7 separate regions of the Homo sapiens genome follow, and regions 1, 2, 3, 4, 5 and 6 are each linked to region 7. The links are contacts of gene promoters, found by promoter capture Hi-C in blood cells and fetal thymus (Javierre and others, 2016). All regions are on one chromosome and are shown on one strand. Each heading gives the region's core, a stretch centred on a gene start or on the middle of the fragment in contact. The rest is flanking DNA. Distances are from core to core; before and after follow the strand shown. Region 1 overlaps GSAP (gamma-secretase activating protein). Region 2 overlaps GSAP (gamma-secretase activating protein). Region 3 overlaps GSAP (gamma-secretase activating protein). Region 4 overlaps GSAP (gamma-secretase activating protein). Region 5 overlaps LOC101927243 (a long non-coding RNA gene). Region 6 overlaps GSAP (gamma-secretase activating protein). Region 7 holds the start of TMEM60 (transmembrane protein 60).

What was found. Contacts are between HindIII fragments. The CHiCAGO score rates a contact against its expected background, and 5 or more counts as called.
Region 1: a fragment that was not itself captured here is called in contact with the fragment with the promoter of TMEM60 in region 7 in 6 of 17 cell types (total B cells, neutrophils, total CD4 T cells and 3 more); the score reaches 10.4 in total B cells.
Region 2: a fragment that was not itself captured here is called in contact with the fragment with the promoter of TMEM60 in region 7 in 3 of 17 cell types (total B cells, monocytes and naive B cells); the score reaches 6.7 in total B cells.
Region 3: a contact is called between a fragment that was not itself captured here and the fragment with the promoter of TMEM60 in region 7, in 6 of 17 cell types (neutrophils, monocytes, naive B cells and 3 more). The highest score is 17.0, in neutrophils.
Region 4: a contact is called between a fragment that was not itself captured here and the fragment with the promoter of TMEM60 in region 7, in 3 of 17 cell types (non-activated CD4 T cells, neutrophils and activated CD4 T cells). The highest score is 7.4, in non-activated CD4 T cells.
Region 5: a contact is called between a fragment that was not itself captured here and the fragment with the promoter of TMEM60 in region 7, in 5 of 17 cell types (activated CD4 T cells, neutrophils, monocytes and 2 more). The highest score is 10.0, in activated CD4 T cells.
Region 6: a contact is called between a fragment that was not itself captured here and the fragment with the promoter of TMEM60 in region 7, in 6 of 17 cell types (naive B cells, total B cells, non-activated CD4 T cells and 3 more). The highest score is 9.3, in naive B cells.

The regions. Positions count from the first base shown.
Region 1 is chr7:77,365,052-77,367,751 of GRCh38, reverse strand. The region is part of intron 12 of GSAP (gamma-secretase activating protein); the gene reads left to right. Among named protein-coding and RNA genes, the nearest start is that of GSAP, 50 kb to the left of the region's middle. The HindIII fragment of the contact is 6,987 bases long and covers 1-2,700 here.
Region 2 is chr7:77,316,897-77,319,596 of GRCh38, reverse strand. The region is part of intron 26 of GSAP (gamma-secretase activating protein); the gene reads left to right. Among named protein-coding and RNA genes, the nearest start is that of CCDC146-AS1, 70 kb to the right of the region's middle. The HindIII fragment of the contact is 1,042 bases long and covers 822-1,863 here.
Region 3 is chr7:77,401,213-77,404,049 of GRCh38, reverse strand. The region is part of intron 3 of GSAP (gamma-secretase activating protein); the gene reads left to right. Among named protein-coding and RNA genes, the nearest start is that of GSAP, 14 kb to the left of the region's middle. The HindIII fragment of the contact is 4,490 bases long and covers 1-2,837 here.
Region 4 is chr7:77,345,438-77,348,137 of GRCh38, reverse strand. All of the region lies in intron 19 of GSAP (gamma-secretase activating protein), which reads left to right. Among named protein-coding and RNA genes, the nearest start is that of GSAP, 70 kb to the left of the region's middle. RefSeq lists an enhancer at 1-105. The HindIII fragment of the contact is 5,489 bases long and covers 1-2,700 here.
Region 5 is chr7:77,424,883-77,427,804 of GRCh38, reverse strand. It overlaps LOC101927243 (a long non-coding RNA gene), which reads right to left. Exons shown (of 5, transcript NR_110073.1): 5 at 2,361-2,594. Among named protein-coding and RNA genes, the nearest start is that of GSAP, 10 kb to the right of the region's middle. RefSeq lists enhancers at 1-633, 1,333-2,030, 2,031-2,729. The HindIII fragment of the contact is 3,122 bases long and covers 1-2,922 here.
Region 6 is chr7:77,383,086-77,385,792 of GRCh38, reverse strand. The region is part of intron 6 of GSAP (gamma-secretase activating protein); the gene reads left to right. Among named protein-coding and RNA genes, the nearest start is that of GSAP, 32 kb to the left of the region's middle. The HindIII fragment of the contact is 4,120 bases long and covers 1-2,707 here.
Region 7 is chr7:77,797,150-77,799,849 of GRCh38, reverse strand. It overlaps TMEM60 (transmembrane protein 60), which reads left to right and starts at 1,416. Exons shown (of 2, transcript NM_032936.4): 1 at 1,416-1,596. It overlaps PHTF2 (putative homeodomain transcription factor 2), which reads right to left and starts at 1,077. Exons shown (of 19, transcript NM_001395272.1): 1 at 879-1,077. RefSeq lists a silencer at 997-1,136 and an enhancer at 1,547-1,656. The HindIII fragment of the contact is 8,213 bases long and covers 1-2,572 here.

The sequences.
Region 1 (2,700 bases), core at 58-2,557, 430 kb after region 7:
AAATTGAGGAGGATGGACTCTTCCCCAGTTCATTCTATGAGGCCAGCATCATCCTGATACTGAAAACCTGTCAGAGACATAAGAACAAAAGAAAACTTCAGGCCAATATCCTTGATGAACGCTGATGCAAAAATCATCAAAATACATGGAAACCAAATCCAATAACATGTCAAAAAGCTAATCTACCACAGTCAAGTAGGTTTCATCCCTGGGAGGCAAGGTTGGCTCAACATATGCAATTCAATAAATGTGATTCATCACATAAACAGAATTAAAGACAAAAACCACATTTATCTCAATAGATGCAGAAAAGGCTTTCGATAAAACTCAATACCCCTTCATGTTAAAAACTCTGAATAAACTAGGTATTGAAGGAAAACCTCAAAATAATAGCCATCTATGACAAACCCATAGCCAACATCATACTGAATGGGCAAAAGCTGGTAGCATTTCCCTTGAAAACTGGCACAGGACAAGGATGTCCTCTCTCACCACTCCTATCCAACATGGTATTGGAAGTCATAGCTAGAGCAATCAGGCAAGAGAGCATCCCAAATAGGAAGAGAGGAAGTCAGGCTATCCCTGTTTGCATACGGCATGATTCTGTAGAAAACCCCATAGTCTCAGCCCAAAAGCTCCTTCAACTGATAAACAACTTCAGCAAACTTTCAGGATACAAAATCAATGTACAGAAATCTCTAGCATTTCTTTACACCAACAAGAGCAAAGTCAAGAGCCAAATCAGAAAGGCAATCCCATTCACAATTGCCACAGAAAGAATAAAATACCTAGGAATACAGCTAACCAGGGAGGGGAAGTTAAAGATGTCTACAATGAGAATTACAAAACACTGCTCAAAGAAATCAGAAGTTACAAAGAAATGGAAAAACATGCTCATGGATAGGAAGAATCAATATCATTAAAATGACCATACTGCCCAAAGCAGTGTACAGATTCAATGCTATTCCTATCAAACTATCAATATTCTTCACAGAACTAGAAAAAACTGTCTTAAAATTCATATGGAACCAAAAAAGCCTGAGTAGCCAAGGTACACCTAAGCAAAAAGAACAAAGCTGGAGATATCATGTTACCCAACTTCAAACTATACTACAGGGCTACAGTAACCAAAACAGTATGGTACTGTTACCAAAACAGGCACATAGACCAATAGAATGGAATAGCGAACCCAGAAATAAGGCTGCACACCTATGACTACCTGATCTTCAGCAAAGCTGACAAAAGCAATGGGGAAAAGACTCCCTACTCAATAAATGGTGTTGGGATAACTGGCTAGCCATATATAGAAATTGAAACTGGAACCCTTCCTTACAACATAGACAAAAATCAACTCAAGATGCATTAAAGACTTAAATGTAAAACCCAAAATTTATAAAAATTCTGAAAGAAAACGTAGGCAATACCATCCTAGTCATAGGAATGGGCAAATATTTCATAACAAAGACATCAAAAGTAATCACAAAAGAAGCAAAAATTGACAAATGGGATCGAATTAAACTTAAGAGCTTCTGCACAGCAAAAGAAACTAACAGAGTAAACCAAACGACCTACAGAATTGGGAGAAAATATTTGCAAACTATGCATCTGACAAAGGCCTAGTATCCAGCATCTACAAGGTACTTAAATTTATAAGACAAAAACAACTCCATTAAAAAGTGGGCAAAGGACATGAACAGATACTTTACAAAAGAAGACATGTGGCCAGCAAGCATGTGAAAAACTCAGTATCACTGAGGATTAGAGAAATGCAGATAGAGGTTACAATGAGATACCATCTCATACCAGTCAGAATGGCTATTATTAAAAGTAAAAAAAAAAAAAAAAAAAAAAAACCCACAGTTGCTGGCAAGGTTGCAGAGAAAAGGGAAGACTTATACACTGTTGATGAGAGTGTAAGTTAGTTCTACCATTGTGGAAAGCAGTATGGTGATTACTCAAAGGCTAACAGCAGAACTACTATTGGACCCAGCAATCTGATTACTGGGTATATACTTAGAGGAATAAAAATCATTCTACCATAAAGATATACGTATGCAAATGTCAATTGCAGCGTGATTCATGTTAGCAAAGACATGGAATCAACCTAAATGCCCATCAGTGACAGATTGGATAAAGAAAATGTGGTACATACATACCGTGGAATACTGTGCAGCTATAAAAAAGAATGAGATCATGTCTTTTGTGGGAACATGGATGGAGATAGAGGCTATTATCCTTAGCAAACTAACGCAGGAACAGTAAAACGAAATACCTAGTGTTCTCACTTACAGGTAGGAGCTAAATGATGAGAACTCCTGAACACAAGGGAACAACAGACACTGGGGTCTTCTTGAGAGTGGAGGGTGGGAGGAGGGAGCGGAGCAGAAAAAGTAACTATTGAGTACCAGGCTTAATAGCTGGGTGATGAAATTATCTGTAAAAATAAACCCCTGTGATATGAGTTTACCTATATAACAAACCTTCACATGTACCCCTGAACTGAAAATAGAAGTTAAAAAAAATTCCTGTAGTCCCAGCTCTTTGGGAGGCCAAAGTAGGAAGATCACATGAGCCCAGGGAGTTCAAGACCACCCTGGGTAACATAGACTCCATCTCTTAAAAAAAATAAAATAATTAGCCAGGCACACATGTAGTCCTAGCTATTTGGAAGGCTGAAGTGGGAGGATTGTTTGAGCCTGG
Region 2 (2,700 bases), core at 93-2,592, 480 kb after region 7:
GTATATACATATCTCTTCAAGATCCTGATTTCAGTTCTTACAGATATTTATCCAGAAATGAGATTACTGGATCATATATTGATTCTTTTTTTTAAATTTTTTGAGGAACCTCCATACTGTTCGCCACAGTGGCTGTACCACTTTACATTCCCACCAACAGTGTATAAGGATTCCAATTTCTCCACATTCTTGATAACACTTAAATTGTGGTTTTTTGATAGTAGCCAACCTGAGAGATGTGAGGTGATACCTCATTGTGGTTTTGATGTGCATTTCCCTGATGATTAGTGATGTCGAGCATATTTTCACATAAGTGTTGGCCATTTGTCTGCAATCTTTGGAGAAATGTCTATTCAAGTCCCTTGCCCATTTTTTAATCTGGTTGTTTTCTTGCTATTGAGGTTTGAGTTCCTTATATGTTTTAGATATTAACTCTTTGTTAGATATATGGTTTGCAAACACTTTTTGTCATCCTGTAGGTTTTGCCTTTACTCTTTGGATCGTTTCCTTTTATACATATATATTTTTATTATTATACTTTAAGTTTTAGGGTACATGTGCACAACACACAGGTTTGTTACATATGTATACATGTGCCATGTTGGTATGCTGCATCCATTAACTCATCATTTACATTAGGTACATCTCCTAATGCTATCCCTTCCCCCTCCCCCCACCCCACAACAGGCCCAGGATCGTTTCCTTTGCTGTGCAGAAGCTTTTTTGTTGGGTGTAGTCCCTCTTACATATTTTTGTTTTCATTGTTTGTGCTTTGGATGTCATATTCAAGGAATCATTGCCAAGACCAATGTCAAGAAGCTTTCCCTCTATGTTTCTTTTAGGGGTTTTTCAGTTTCAGGTCTTATGTTTAACTTTCTAATGCATTTTGAGTTGAATTTTGTTTATGGTAAAGATAAGGGTCCCATTTCATTCTTTTGCCTATGGACAGTTTTTCCAACACCATTTATCAGAGATACACGATCCTTTCCCCATTGTGTGTTCTTGGTGCTTTTGAAGATTAGTTGCCTAAACATGAATGGATTTATTATTGCATATAAAGTTCTAATGAGTGTTAAACTTTATGATAGCTGTAACTACATATCAGCTGATATTTAGTTACTTCATTCATATATATTCATCCATTCATCATTTGTTCATTGCTTCATTTTAGGCCAACATATATATGATACTCATTTTGTGCCACGTACTGTTGAAAGTACACACAAATTAGTACACTTAATTTTCATAAAATTTTAACTGGTAGAAACTTAAGTTGGACCACATTAAATTGTCAGTGCCCAACCATTTTTTGGCCAACAAAAATGGCACTTTCATGTGGTTCCACTTAATATTATTCCCATTTTATAGATGGTGAAACTGAGGCCAGAAAGGTTGAGTAATTTGCCTAAAGTCACATAGCTATTAAGTGACAGAGCTGATATTCAAATCCAGGCAGTTTGGCTCCAAAATCCATGCTGCTTCTTGAATTTTATATTCCAGTTGAATTAGTTGATGTTGAAACATGGGCTATTTATGGGCCTAAAGAATCCCTACAGCATATGCTGCTCTGCATTTATGACACATCTGATACGGTTTGGAATCCTTCATTCTTCATCCACCTTATTTAATGTCTGTCTGTATGGCAGTACAAAAGGAGTTGAAAGGGACCATTTGTGAGGGGAATGGATGGTTTAAAATTATCCCAATGGAATATGAGTTATGAGGTACACCCTAGAAAGATTGAAGGATTACAGGAAAACTACCTTTGTGGCTTAAATTCTTAATTGTTTGTTGTTAACACAAAAAATTTGGTAGGGAAATGGATTGACAGTTTTAGATTTGTTCATTACAGATATTCAAGCTTCTTTTGAAAATAAATGAAACTGACTTACTGGGGACATTGTTACGCCTGGAGATCATAAAAATCCACTTTCTACCCAACTCACATTCCTTCACAGTGATAAGGAGGGAAAACAAAGATGTTATCCATAGTGATCGAGAATTATTATAAGTAGACTTATGGCTTGTGTCTGTGGGTCAGGTAAGGAAAAGGTGTTTCTCATTTTTTTAATTATACTTTAAGTTCTAGGGTACATGTGCACAACGTGCAGGTTTGTAACATAGGTATACATGTGCCATGTTGGTTTGCTGCACCTATTAACTCGTCATTTACATTAGGTATTTCTCCTAATGCTATCCCTCCCCCAGCCCCCAACCCCACGACAGGCCCCAGTGTGTGATGTTCCCCCCCAACCCTTGTCCAAGTGTTCTCATTGTTCAATTCCCACCTATGAGTGAGAATGTGTGGTGTTTGGTTTTCTGTCCTTGGGATAGTTTGCTGAGAATGATGGTTTCAAGCTTCATCCATGTCCCTGCAAAGGACATGAACTCATCCTCTTTTATGGCTGCATAGTATTCCATGCTCTCTCCTTTTCTCTTGAATGTTTATTTCCATCATGTGACATGGAAATAGAGGGGGGAGGTGACACTGGATCATGTGTGTGTGTGCATGTGCATGCTTGTATGAATTCAGGGTGTTTCTATATGCACATGCGTAAGTGTGCTTGCTTTCCAGGCCTATTGGACTAATGATGACTGTTTGAGTTACGATTGTCAGAGACTTGTAACATGAATTGGTTAAAGTTAAGAAGAGAATGGGGAACACAAAAAGGAAGTCAGGGTTTAGAGCTAGGGCATTTG
Region 3 (2,837 bases), core at 316-2,815, 400 kb after region 7:
TCAGTTATCACAGTACATGCAACAGTTTTATTCATTTATTTGTTGATGGACACCTGTTTCTAATATTTGCCTATTATGAACACTATTGTATACATAGGTATTTTTTAATTCTTTTGTGTGTGTATCTAGGAGTGGGAATACCAACTTTATTTTCTAAAAAATTATATTTCTTTGCTTTCCTTCTCTTCTCCCTTAACGATCTCTTGGTCCTGTTATCCTAAACAAAAAATGCAAGGACTATTGGACCACAAAGTGAGGTGAGGTCTCTTAGACCTTTGAGATTTAAGTAAAATTGGCTCAAACAAATTATTCAATATCCTCTAAGAAAGTAGGAGGTCCAATGTCCTTCTTGAGATTTGTGTACTCCCAGGTCATCCTATAATGACCTCTGACTCTTTCTGCTTCTGCTTAACCTTCACATGTCTTGTTTCTCATTATTTCTTAGTGATCCAGACAAGGAACCCCTTTCCTTATTTTTTTCCCCAAATTACTCACATAAGGCGTTGGTTGATGTGACAGGCTTTGTCTAATTCTGGGAGCAAATGGGAGGGAGTAATTTTGTACCTATGTAAAAACAATTTAGAATTGAATATTAGACATCTTTGAACTTAAATGTCCTTTATCCATTACAAATTTTTTACAGGTCACCTTACTCTTCAGGGTTCCAATACGCTGCTTGGTTAATTCTCTCTTCCCTTCTTCCACCCCTTTCACCTTTATTCATTAATTCATTCACCCATTCACTGATCCAACAAATAAGCATTGAGTGTTTTCCCTGTCAGGTGCTGGAGACACAGTGATGATCAACATAAACTCACAATACACAGTCTAGGGAAAGAGAATAAAATCTCAAGTTTTCAGTGCAATTGTTAGCTTAATTTCTGTGTGGCATGTATTCTAAAAAGGTGGATTGAGAGGAGACATCATAGTCTGTCTTCTGTCAATCCAGTTGTGGTGACTGCTGCTATCTTTTGTGGTCATATTCCTCTCTCCCAAGACTGTGAGCACTTGACAGTAGGAGCACTTTGCATACCAATGTGTTTTATCCCCGTTACCTTTAGCTTACTGCCTGTGAGTGGTAGGAGTACAGTGAATGTTTTTCACTGGATTGATAGTGATAGGTTCCCTCCAGAGTGGCTGTTTTTCAAAAATTTTCCAGTGACAAAGGTGCTTTGAATTCCAAAATGTGAAAGTTAGTCCAGAAAATAAATTGGCCAAAGGATAAATTAATAGGAAATTTAAACTAGCTTTGTAAACAGGCAAATTTTTCTTCTGAACCGTAGTCGCTAAACAAACCCTCCCCTTCTCCCATCTCTTCTCCACGTAGGCACAACCCTTACAGCCCATATGTTTTTTTTTTTTTTTACGGACCTTTTGATGGTTTTATTGAAGGAATGGATTTGTATACCAAATCTAGATGGGCTTTAAAATTCTTTTTTTTTTTTTTTTTTTTTTTGAGACAGAGTCTCACTCTATTGCCAGGCTGGAGTGCAGTGGCGCCATCTCAGCTCACTGCAACCTCCGCCTCCTGGGTTCAAGCAAATCTCCTGCCTCAGCGTCCCAAGTAGCTGGAACTACAGGTGTGTGCCACCACGCCCAGCTAATCTTTTTTTTCTGTGTGTGTGTATATATATATATTTTTTTTTTCTTTTTTCTTTTTTTTTTTTTAGTAGAGATGGGGTTTCCCATGTTGGCCAGGATGGTCTCAATCTCTTGACCTCGTGATCTGCCTGCCTCAGCCCCAAAGTGCTGAGATTACAGGTGTGAGCCACCGTGCCCGGCCTAAGATTCTTTTCAAGTACTGTATTTTTCCTTGGAAAGGTGCCACCATGAGGAAAGATGGTGCCATCAAGAGAAAAAAAAAATCTTTCTCTTGGTAATTGAGCTTCAGGATGGGATAACAGTGTCTGAGTCTTAATGCTTACCCATCCTTCTCTAAAAGTTTTTATTTTTTAAATTTGATAAAACTAGTAGAGTAATGTCCTGTGTACTCTTCACTCAGTTTCTCTCAATTGTTAAATCTTGTGTAACTATAGGATAATATATTAAAACCAATAAATTAATGTCGGTAGAATGTGTGCATATGGTTCTATGCCATTTCATTACTTGTGTAGATTCTTGTAATTACCACTGCAATCGAGAAAGAGTTATTCCATTTCTACAAGATCTATTGGTGTTGAAATTTTACCAGTTCGAATGAAGTGTGGAACTATTATCTCCTTTTGAGTCTCTTTACCTTTCTGTGTTTTTGATTGTCTTCGATATTTCCTATACATTCTTTAGGATCCTCATCAGGCAATGTTATACTTTTCGCCCTGATTGTCAAACATAATTTAGAAAACACAGGAGAAGGAAAGTCTATTGTGTTTACCTATATATTTGCTCTTTCCATGGTTCTTTCTGATGTTCTAAGGTTCCTCTTTTATCATGTCCTTTCTCTTTCAAGAACTTTTTTTAACCATTTTTTTTAGGGTAGCTATGCCGATGACAAATTTTCATAGTTTTCTTCATCTGAGAATGTGTTTTTTTCCTTTCATTCCTGAAGGATAATTTTGCCAAGTGTAGAATTCAGGATTCATAGTTCTTTTTGTTCCTCTCTTGAAAAACATGCCACTTCCTTCTGGGTTCTCTGGTTTCTCATGAGAAATCTGCTGTCTTTTGAATTTTTCTCCCCCCCATATAGATGTCACTTTTTTCTTTGCTGTTTTTGAAAAAATTTTTTTCTTTCTCCTTAGTTTTCTGAAGTTTGATTGTGCTGTGTCTTGGTGTGGATTTGTTTGGATTTTGCCTGTTTGGGGTTTACTCCGCTTATTGAATCTGTAGTCTCTTGCCAAATT
Region 4 (2,700 bases), core at 170-2,669, 450 kb after region 7:
GAGTGCAGTGGCATGATCATAGCTCACTATAATCTCTAATTCCTGGGCTCAAGCAATCCTCCCGTCTCAGCCTCCTGAGTGGTTGGTACTACAGTCATGAGCCACCATACCCATCCAGTTTCTTATTTTTTCTTATTTTTTTTTTTTTTTGTAGAGATGGGGTCTTGCTATGTTGCCAGGATGATCTCAATCTACTGGCCTCAAGTCATCCTCCTGCCTTAGCCTCTTAGAGTGCTAGGATTATAGGTGTGAACCACCATGATGGACCATAATTTTTTAATGGACAACAAACCAGTGAAGAAAAATTTTGAAAGAAATATCATCCATAATTCTACAGTTCCTAATGTACCAACTGTCTCTTCTCCCCCATTTCCTCTTGGCCTTTGTTATAGGTATGCATATTTTACCCAGTAGTAATTGTGATCTACAGATATTAGATAAATTTTAGAAATTATGTTATTGTAAACATTTTTTCATGTTGCTATGTAAACTTATAATTTCTAATGACTCCATAGGATTCCACTGGATGGCAGTGTCTTTTTCTTTTTATTATTTTAAATTAGTAAGTGTGTGAGGAAAAACTCTGTCCAAACTGTGTTTTCCCTCTCTCTCACACTGCAACAATAATCATCAACACAGAAAAACACTTCTGTTACCAAATGTGTGGGAATTCTTCATGTACCAAGCAGCAGACACCAGCTGGGTGTCCTTTAATTCAGTTCTGACACTATCTACCTAGAGACAGTGTCAGATCCCACAGGTTGGGGGACATAGTCCCCAAGACTACCCTCCACACCCCCAGATAACAGGTGCAAGTCCAGACCTCTGGAACTTCTGACCAACTGTCTTTAAGTTGGGGTTCCCACGGTACCTCTTTAGGTTTGATTAATTTGCTGGGGTGGCTCACAGAACTCAGGGAAACATGTTTACTGGCCTATTATAAAGGATATTGCAAAGGAAACAGATGAAGAGACGCATAGAGTGGGGTATGGGGGAAGGGACGTGGAGCTTCCATGCCCTCTTTCGATTCACCACCCTCCAGGAACCTCCACCTGTTCAGCTATGGGGAAACTTCCCCAACCCAGTCTTCTGGGATTTTTATGGAAGCATTCCTTCCCTCCAGGGTATGAGGCAGGACCCTCTTAGGGGAGGGTCTTAAGATCTGCAATCAGAAAGGCAGGGGGGTGGGGCGGGGGGTGGTGGTGGGGAGTGGTGGAGGGGAGAGTCATGCCTTAGGGCAGGTGAAAGGAAGGCAGGAGAGAGAGTTTCCCGAGACTAGTCCTGGTCCCGAAGCCTAAAATACCCGATATTATAACATCAGGCTGTAACAAAGGCTATGGGCATTGTGAACCAGGAGTGGGTGGATGAAAATTAATACATACAAAACACCACAATAAGTATGTCATACTTTTTTTTTTTTCTTTTTTTGAGGTAGGGTCTCACTCTGTTGCCCAGGCTGGAGTGCAATGACATAGTCACAGCTCACTGCAACCTTGAACTCCTGGGCTCAAGCAGTCCTCTTGCTTCAGCCTCCTGAGTAGCTAGGACTACACGTACATGTCATCATGTCTGGTTAATTAAAACTTTTTTTTTTTTTTTTGGTAGAGACAGGGTCTTACTATGTTGCCCAAGCTAGTTTCAAACTCCTAAGCTAAAGCCATCCTCCTAACTCGGCCTCCCAAAGTGTTGGTATTACAGGTATGAGCCACCATGCCCTGCTGGGTTGCAGTGCCTTAACTCAATTGTTCTTCTGTTTTTTGGACATTTAGTTTGTCCCTAGCCCCCATTAAAAAAATTTCTTTTTGCTGTTAGAAATAATGTTGCAGAGAATTTTTTTTCTTTCTTTCTTTTTTTTTTTTTTTTTTTTGAGATGGAGTCTCATTCTCGTTGCCCAGGCTGGAGTGCTTTGGTGTGATCTCGGCTCACTGCAGCCTCTGCCTCCTGGGTTCAAGCGATTCTCCTGCCTCAGCCTCCTGAGTAGCTGGGATTACAGGTGTGCACCACTATGCCCGGATAATTTTTGTATTTTTAGTAGAGGCGGGGTTTCACCATGTTGGTCAGGCTGGTCTCGAACTCCTGACCTCAGGTGATCTGCCCACCTCGGCCTCCCAAAGTGAACATTTTTATACATACAGTTTTTCTTTTGATCTATTCCCCTAAGGTTAAGAGCCCAGAGGTAACATTGGGTGAAAGGCTATGACGATTTTTATAGCATTTGATTCTTATTTTGTGATAAATTGATATTCAATGAAAGGGATGTCACGTGCGTCCAGGTGAAGAGACCACCAAACAGGCTTTGTGTGAGCAATAGAGCTTTTTAATCACCTGGGTGCAGGCGGGCTGAGTCCGAAAAGAGTCAGCGAAGGGAGATGGGGTGGGGCCGTTTTATAGGATTTGGGTGGGTAGTCAAAAATTACAGTTAAAGGGGGTTTTCTCTTATGAGCAGGGGCGTGTGTCACAAGTTGCTCAGTGGGGGAGCTTCTGAGCCAGGAGAAGGAATTTCACAAGGTTAATCGCTCAGTTAAGATGGGGCAGAAACAAGTCGCAATGGTGGAATGTCATCAGTTAAGGCAGAAACCGGCCATTTTCACTTCTTTTGTGATTCTTCACTTCCTTCAGGCCATCTGGATGTATACGTGCAGGTCACAGGGGATATGATGGCTTAGCTTGGGCTCAGAGGCCTGATAGTCCTGTCTTCTT
Region 5 (2,922 bases), core at 142-2,641, 370 kb after region 7:
CAGAAGGCTTGACTTACCTAGATTGCATATAATCAGTATGTAAGGAGTTAGGATTTTTCTAACAGTAAAAGCAATCTTGACTAAGGCATTTGAAGCAAAAGTTAACACTACCTGAATCTTAGATCAAATAGAAGGGTTTACCCCAGAGAACTATCAAGCATTTTTTTCCAGAGATCTGTGGGGAAACCTACAATTTGATTTTTGAGGGTAAGTTGGGGAGTAGAGGAGAGTTTCTGAAAACTCTCCCTACTATTTCCTGTTTTATTTTTTGAGACGGAGTCTTGCTCTGTCACCAGGCTGGAGTGCAGTTGCACAATCTTGGCTCACTGTAACCTCCGTCTCCCGGGTTCAAGCAATTCTCCTGCCCCAGCCTCCCAAGTAGCTGGGACTACAGGCACGTGCCAAAACACCCAGCTAATTTTTGTATTTTTAGTAGAGACAGAGTTTCACCATGTTGGCCAGGATGGTCTCGATCTCTTGACCTTGTGAGCCACCTGTCTCAGCCTCCCAAAGCGCTGGGATTACAGGCGTGAGCCACCGCGCCCAGCCTATTTCTTCATCCTTAATTCTATTTTCCTGGTTCACTTTGTAGAATTTGCTACACAGGATGTCTTTCACTGTTAAAATTTTCATGTTTCCTTGGTTACTAGGTTGCAGTTTTCTCCTAAGCCCCTCTGTCTCTCTGCATATGAACTTGGTGACAGGGATTGGGAAGTGAATTTTTTTGATGATCTTATTGCTACTGTAGTTAAGAATCAGCACTGTTAAGCAAATGGGGCCTTGGGGATCATAGTTCAACTTCTTTTATTTTACAAATGAGAAAACCAAGTTCAGAAAAGTTAAGCAACTTGCCTAAGGTCACAGAGCCTGTTCATGCCAGGGCTGCCTCAAGAATCCAGGCCTGTTAACTCTGAGTCAAGTACTAAATACATGACTCCATTGCTGGCCTTTTTCTTTTCTTTTTTTTTAAATGCCTGAAATTCTTTACCCTCTTGAGACTCAGCTGAGCATTTGGCCAACCTGGTGTAAATATCAGGCTTTTTCTTAAGTGACAAAGTTTTGATACTATCAAAGAACACGGGAAACTACTATCTGCTCCCGGGGGTGGACACAGATTAGATGGACATTTGGAAAGCTGGAGGCCCTGAAGAGAAAGGTGACACATTACAGGGTTCAGTTTGCGATTAATACTAAGCATTCTGATGGCATGCTGCTTCCACGCAGGGGACAGAGATATCGCTTTCCCATGGACTCTAATTTGTCTCCATAGTCTCTCTTCTAGCAGATCCAGAGATGGATCTTGACTAAAAAGATAGACGTGCTGATTGTCTTCTTAAAGAAAAATTCTGTGGTGGAGGAGGTAGCCTCTTTTAAAATCTGGGAAAGATGTAGATTTTTGAGAATGAAGAGGGTTTAAATTAAACATAGTTCAAAAAATTAAACACAAGAGGGAAACTAATGGAATCCTTCATAAAATGTTTAAAATATTGCCTACGAATCTCAATACTTCTACAGATTATTTTCAGAAAATAACGGGTTTTAAGAGAGCTGAGCTGTGGCCGTTTTGGTGATGAACTGCTTGGATCCCCTTTCGAACAGGCTGGGCTAGTTTCAATTTCTCTAAAGTCGTCTGTATTATTAGCATTCATGTAAAGAAAGGTTCAGAGGTTTGCTTTTTTTTTTTTTTGCACAATAAAATCTTTTTCAAAACAATTTTCTATGATATGGTAATTCTTTTATAACCCATGTTAAGTCAGGTTTCTTTTGTATATTGTGATTCATGCTAAGATAAATAAAAAATAAACCACGATTGAAATTTTAAAAAAGAAGCTGCTTAACGAAGATCTTTAAGTAGCTAATGAGTCAGTGAGTATTCACAGAAGTTTGGTCAATGCTAGCAGGGACTATTTTGTGTTGAGAACAAAGACACCAAAGAGATAGCCACTGGGAGGAGACCGGAGGGAGGCAAGAGGCTCCTGTGGAGCACTGGAATCAGGAAAAATTTCCCAGCCCTCATTATCAAAACCGGCTGGAGGGAACAGCAGTGAAAAAAACAACATGCAAAGCCACAAACAGGTGAAAAATGCAGAAAAATGTAATGTTCTTAGCAAGGCGGCACATCCTTCATTTATGATCACCTACAACATATTTTCAAAGTAAAATCCTATCAAAGAAAATAAGCTCTTGTGATTCAACAGCCATAGGACAGCTGGCATTTCCCTCCTCCCCCAACAACTGACACTGTCCAGAGGGACACCAGAATCCCCTGAATTTGAGCATTACATCGTACAACAAAATATTTAATTTTAATCAAATTTATTTTCCTACGGGGCATTCAAAAGAGCACACTAACCCATCACTTTCGAGATGGTAATTTATTTACTTAGTTTTTGCTTATTCAGGACCTTCGATTGGCTGACTTGGTTCCTCCAGGAATTGCCCCTCCAGAGGTGGTGACAGTAGGTCTTCTGTGGAGGGAATTGCTGGGACAGCGTTCAGCTTCATTAAAGGGAGCTTTCAGGGAAAGTGGGAGCTGGGGTCTGGCTGCCAAGATTTTAATGAATTGCTTCAGATATTCTCTCTGGTGGCTTCCACTGTGTTTAGAAATTTGAGAAAAAAAATCTATGTACAGAACACATGGCAGTTGGACATTAAAAATCTGCCACACACACAAGTATCTGTCATACATTTCTTTTAAAATGGCTAAGTGCTACTCATGAAATTCACAAAGGATTTCAGGAAGTCAATGTGTATATTTTAATGAAAATATTTCTGTAATAGATATTATTTATTCCTTGTCATGAATTTGCCTGTGCAATTAAGTCATATGATTATTTTGCAAAAAAAGTTTGATTTTAGTAATTTTTTTCCTGAGACCAGTTAATGGAAGTTTCTTATTATAGAGGAAAGGACAGTCATTTA
Region 6 (2,707 bases), core at 27-2,526, 410 kb after region 7:
GTTAGGGGAGAGGGTTGTCTCTCTCTTCCCAGGGTCCTCCCCTGTCAGCCAGTCCTTTCAGCTGCGCATTTCCCCGCCACTCCTGACAGCACTGTGGTCGCTCCTCAATTCCAGATATGGCCTGGCCTGAAGCTCCCAAGCTGCATTCTCCTACCCTCAGGAAGCTACTCCGTCTACACTGTCATCAATGTGGGGAGGCTGGGGACAGAGCACACTTCTCTTTTCTGGTCTGTTCTTTGGCTTCCTTAGCATCTTGTTAGGGCCATATAGATGGTAGAGACATGACTGAAGGATTGGGGTAACTAAAGGGAATTGGAGCATAGAAAGGGGAAAAGTTTTTAAAAGCAAGTGGTTGTATACATTGCGAATATATTAAAATCTACCAAAAATTGTATATATTAAAGTGGTTAAAATGGTAAATTTTATGTTATGTGAACTCAGTTTTAAAAAGTTAAAAGTGGCTGGGCGCAGTGGCTCATGCCTATAATCCTAGCACTTTAGGAGGCCAAGGAGGGCAGATTGCCTGAGCTCAGGAGTTTGAGACCAGCCTGGCCAACGTGGCAAAACCCCATCTCTACTAAAAATATAAAAATTAGCTGGGCGTGGTGGTATGCTACTGTAATCCCATCTACTCGGGTGGCTGAGGTGGGAGAATTGCTTGAACCTGGGAGGCAGAGGTTGCAGTGAGCCAAGATCGTGCCATTGCACTCCAGCCTGGGCAACAGAGCGAAACTCCATCTCAAAAAAAAAAAAAAAAAGTTAGAAGTACATGGAACAGGACAGCATCTATAGGCCAAAGGAAAAGTCCCAACCCAAATAAAGTAAAACTTGTACTAATTCTGTGGACCCATCTTAGTCCCTAGCCCTGCCTTCTGCCCCCATGTCTCTGCCTCTGGAGAGAGAAACTCCTCTAAACCCCAGTGGCAAATCCCCGCCTTCTCCCTCCTGCCTCTAGAGAAATGACATCTACTGTCCATTGAGTTGGTCTTGCCCTGGGATCAATTTCCTTTTTCTTACAAAAACATCCATGGTGATCTCCAGCAGCACATTTCCCTAACTCTGCATGTGTAGTCTTGACAACCTACACAGAGGAGCTTCAGCAGGAGTGGCAGGTGGGGCTTGGATCCCAATCCGGGACCCTTTGAGTGTTTCCTTCCAGCACAAGGTGTGTCTTCAAGATAGTTCCAGTGGGTAATTACACACCCTCTACACACCGAGACTACAGACCTCCAAAGACCAATATTCATTCTAAGTCTAGCTCCATATTTGTGAAGATAAATTTTTCAAAGTAAATATAATCTGCATAGAATCCTACTTACAATACAAAAAAAATAACCTTGAGTGCTTTTGCAGAGCTGTGTCTGAATCCTGTCTACTTTTGGCTTCCAGGCCTTACTCTAGGACCACCTTATAATAGAAAGAAAAACAACACCTACCTGAACGGGACTTTTAAAATAACATTCTCCCTGATTGTCACAGGAAGACCAGGCAGAGGTTTAGAGGTTGGCAGTTACACCTCTTCAGCACCTCAGTCCATGTCACATTCCTAAGCAGGCATGCCCTGGCCACCTCTGTAGACCGGGAGGCCATACCATCTTCCATAGCAGCAGATATCTCCATATTTTGAGGCACTGAACATTTGTTCTCCCATCCTATATGTGGTGTCATTCATCTCTGCTTTTCCTCAACTCTGGTATACAAAGTATCTTGTTTGATGTGTGACATTTTACAAATTATGAGACAATTAGTTCTGTATTATTTTTGTAGCTGAATTCTGCATTGCTATTTTATAATTTTGACTTTATTGCTGTGAAGCATATGTTTTGCTTTTCATTTCTAAAAGGGAACTCAACTATAAATGTTCCAAAATTTGACTAGTACTATTTTTAATCTGATATTATGCAAAGGTAGGACACTAGGAAATAATAAAAAATTGTCCTAAGTTTAGTGAGACTAATGACTCGGAGATTGGGACATAAAAGTTGTGCCCTTTTATATTACTTTCAAGTTTTGGGTGAGGAAAAGAACAAAATTCACGGGTCTTTCATGCTGCAAAATGAAATGGCTGGTTTACAATTGCCCTTTTGAGTCATCCTGTGACCAGTTTTTCCTCATTATCACAGCCGACGGGGTCAGGACTTGTGTTGCTGGCAGCCTACTTTGTCCTGCAAACAGACACATAGTGGTGGGCTTATATGGGAGAGCACAGAGAAGGAGGAATGGGGTGGATTTAAGCCTTTTCTTCCTGGTGACAGTCGTTCTGTGCTTTCAGACTTGTAAATTCTCAACTCATGTGGCACCATGACTCACTGTTCTTTCTTGACAAATTCTGGTTATGTTGTGCTTTGTCTCTTGGATGTGGAACTTTGGAAGCTGTCGTGGGGAATATATTTACTTGGCTCTCAAATTATATACTAGGTTTAGTTGCACAACGACTATATCGACCTCTGTGTGTGTGTGTGTGTGTGTGTGTGAAATAGAACATTTTGTATAAATGTTGTTTGCATTGTTTCTGATTGGTTTCAGAATCAAATATTCCAAATAGGAAGTACCATCCCTAGAATTAGCTTCAACCTTAACATTTACTGTTTATTTTACTTTATTTTTAGACAGAGTCTTGCTCTATCACCCAGGCTAGAGTATAGTGGCATGATCTTGGCTCACTCCAACTTCAACCTCCTGGGTTCAAGTGATCCTCCCACTTCAA
Region 7 (2,700 bases), core at 167-2,666:
AAATTACTTGGCATGTAAAGTACACACTGAGATTAATAAATTGTTCCAGATTCTGCACTGCCCAGGTTAGTATAAGGCAGTTCCTTGTTTTCGCCACGCTAAAAATAAGAAGGGTGACAGATTAGTGACAGAATGATCCCTGAAGTTACACAAGGAGGTGCTGAGTTAGAAAGCCATGACTCGAAGGACAATACCAGAATGCTGGCTGTCAACACTGGGCAGATAAAAATAAGAAAAGCTGAAGCATGCTGATGGAGCACGGTATTGTTTCCAGACGGGAACTATCCCTTAAGGCCCATGCCTTAAGCACCCACTCCGCCGTGTTGGGATCAGAAAACTCGACTGCCGCCTGCTCAGAGGGGGCAGGGCAGCGACCCTCCTTCCACCTCCTCCAGCGCGCGAGCCGCCGCCCCCTCCCGAGCCCGCTCCTCCGGCCGCTAGCTGACATCTCCCCGCCAGCCGGGCTAGCCACCCGAGACCCCTGAACGCCCTTCCAGGACCCGACGACCCCTCAGCACAGCGCCAAGGGAAGGAAGCAAAGGACAGGGGCCTGGAAGCGGGGCCCGAGGGGCGGGTGGCGCGCTGGGCTTCGGCCCGTCACCATCAAGACTTGAGGACCGCGCGAGCTCGGGAGGAAGGCGGCTGAGCCTCCGCCACCGGCCGACTGATGAGAAGGGGTCGCGGCTGACCCCGGCCCTCAGGTACGGGAGACTGCCGGGAAAGTCGCCGGCGACGGAGGGCGACGCGTTGGCCCCGGAGCCCCCACCTCCATCCCGACGACCGCTCTCCTCCCTCGTCCCGATCCATCCTCGAAATTCTGTCAGAACTCGACGACCTCCACACTGCCCACCCGAGCGCGGAGGTGATGCCGCTCTTACCGTAGGAGCGAGCGCCGCGCCGCTAGGAGGCGGCTGAGGTGCGCGCGGGAGACTCCGAAGCTAGCGCCGCCGCCAACAGAGCCCAAGGAGCCACAACGAGGCTGCCCGCGGGCGCGCTGCCTCCAGAGGGTTGCCCCACCCCCTCTCCCGCAGGATTTTGCGCCGGAGCCTGCAGTCACTGCGCGCGGGCAGGGAGGATGGGAGGAGGGGCGGGGCGTCCCGAGAGGGCGGAGCTGAGCGCCGGCTGCTCTGATTAACATCTGTGGGCCCAATGGGAGCACGGAAACTCCAGGCTGATCTTGGACTGACTTCCCTACTAACCCGTGACAGTAGAGAGGCGGGACCAATGGGTCTTTTTATTGCCGCCTTTCTGTCGAACCCGAAAGTAAGGAAAGGTCGGTTGGTTTGCACTGGCGGACAAATGGTCCAATTACCGCGGAAAAGGGACCTCTGAATCCAGATTGGCGTCCTCTCTACCTATAGGGTAGGCTCAGGGGCGGTGAGAACCAGCCCCGGATGTGGGCGCGGCACTGAGGTAGAACTGAGAGATCCTCTACCGCAGTCGTTTGAGGAGGCGGAACTGAAGTTTTTTCTTAATTATCATGTGACGGGTTCTGGATTTAATGGGGGGAAAAGGGCGGAAAAGGACAAGGATCCAAACTGGCGAATTTGCTGATCTTCGCGTCCCTCTCCGCTTTCCGGCCGGCAGCGCTGCCAGGTGAGTCTGGGGCTCTGCCCTAGCCCGCACCGTACGCCGGCGCTGGTCTCCTGATGCTTCCGTGGGCTGTGCGGCCGACCCTCAACCCATCACACAGCCAGCCCCAAACGCGCACACGCCTGCTTGGCTCCAGGGCTTCTGTGCGCATCCAGCAGGAACCGTGTTAAACTCCAGCATGTGCTGGGCTTACAGCCCATGAAAGGGGAGCGTCCCGGTGGGGCGCCGCGAGCCGACTGTCGGTGTTTGCAGAAGGGCAAGTATAGTTTAGGAGCGTCCTGAAGTTCCAGGGGCAAATAGGCCCCCAGATGAGCTAAGTTGTAAGCAGAACGCTGTTCCTTTGGCCAAGGCTGTTGCTGCACGGGCTTTTCAAAAGCGACTCATTATGAAGAAGAATAAATATGTGGGCTCATGAAGCAAAATTATCTTTGGGATGAGGCAGGTTCACTTGGTAGACTACTGGCAGTGGCGAGAGAAGGGAAATGGGGGCTGATACCCAGCCGTGGGCTATGTGGGTGGGGCTCTATATATGTCCATACAGGGGTAACTCCGAAGGTTTTAAAAATGAGTAAGGAATCATTAACAAATATTTAACTGTCTTCCTAGTGCCAGAAATAACCACCTTAAATGGGAAACATTTTAGTTGAGCACATTTTTGGAGTACGCACCTCCCCCTTTCTTGTGGAGAGAATAGTAGGAAACATAACGACTGCTCAAATTGATGAAGACGTAAATGTAAAACTGGGATCGTATGTCATCGTTGTAGCTCAGCATACAGGCGTACAATCCTTCAATCGTCATTTAAGTATCAGCAGTGCTTCCCCATTGAGGGTATTTCCGTGCAAGAACATAACAGAATTTTGTTGCATCCCACATTATAAATCTTGTAGGCACAATAAGATTGTTACTTGCATCCTTTCACCTCCAGCCCTAAAGCACCTGTGGTAAGTACAGCCAAATGTAAGAAAAAAATGAAGCTTGTCTTATCCGATAGCAGATGGAACAGTTAGGTTTAAGCAAGTGTATAATCATAAACCGTTTTTCAGAGGTTCACAAAAACGGCCTGATAGATTGGAGGTGGGGATTGTGCAATTTACGGGATGAAAT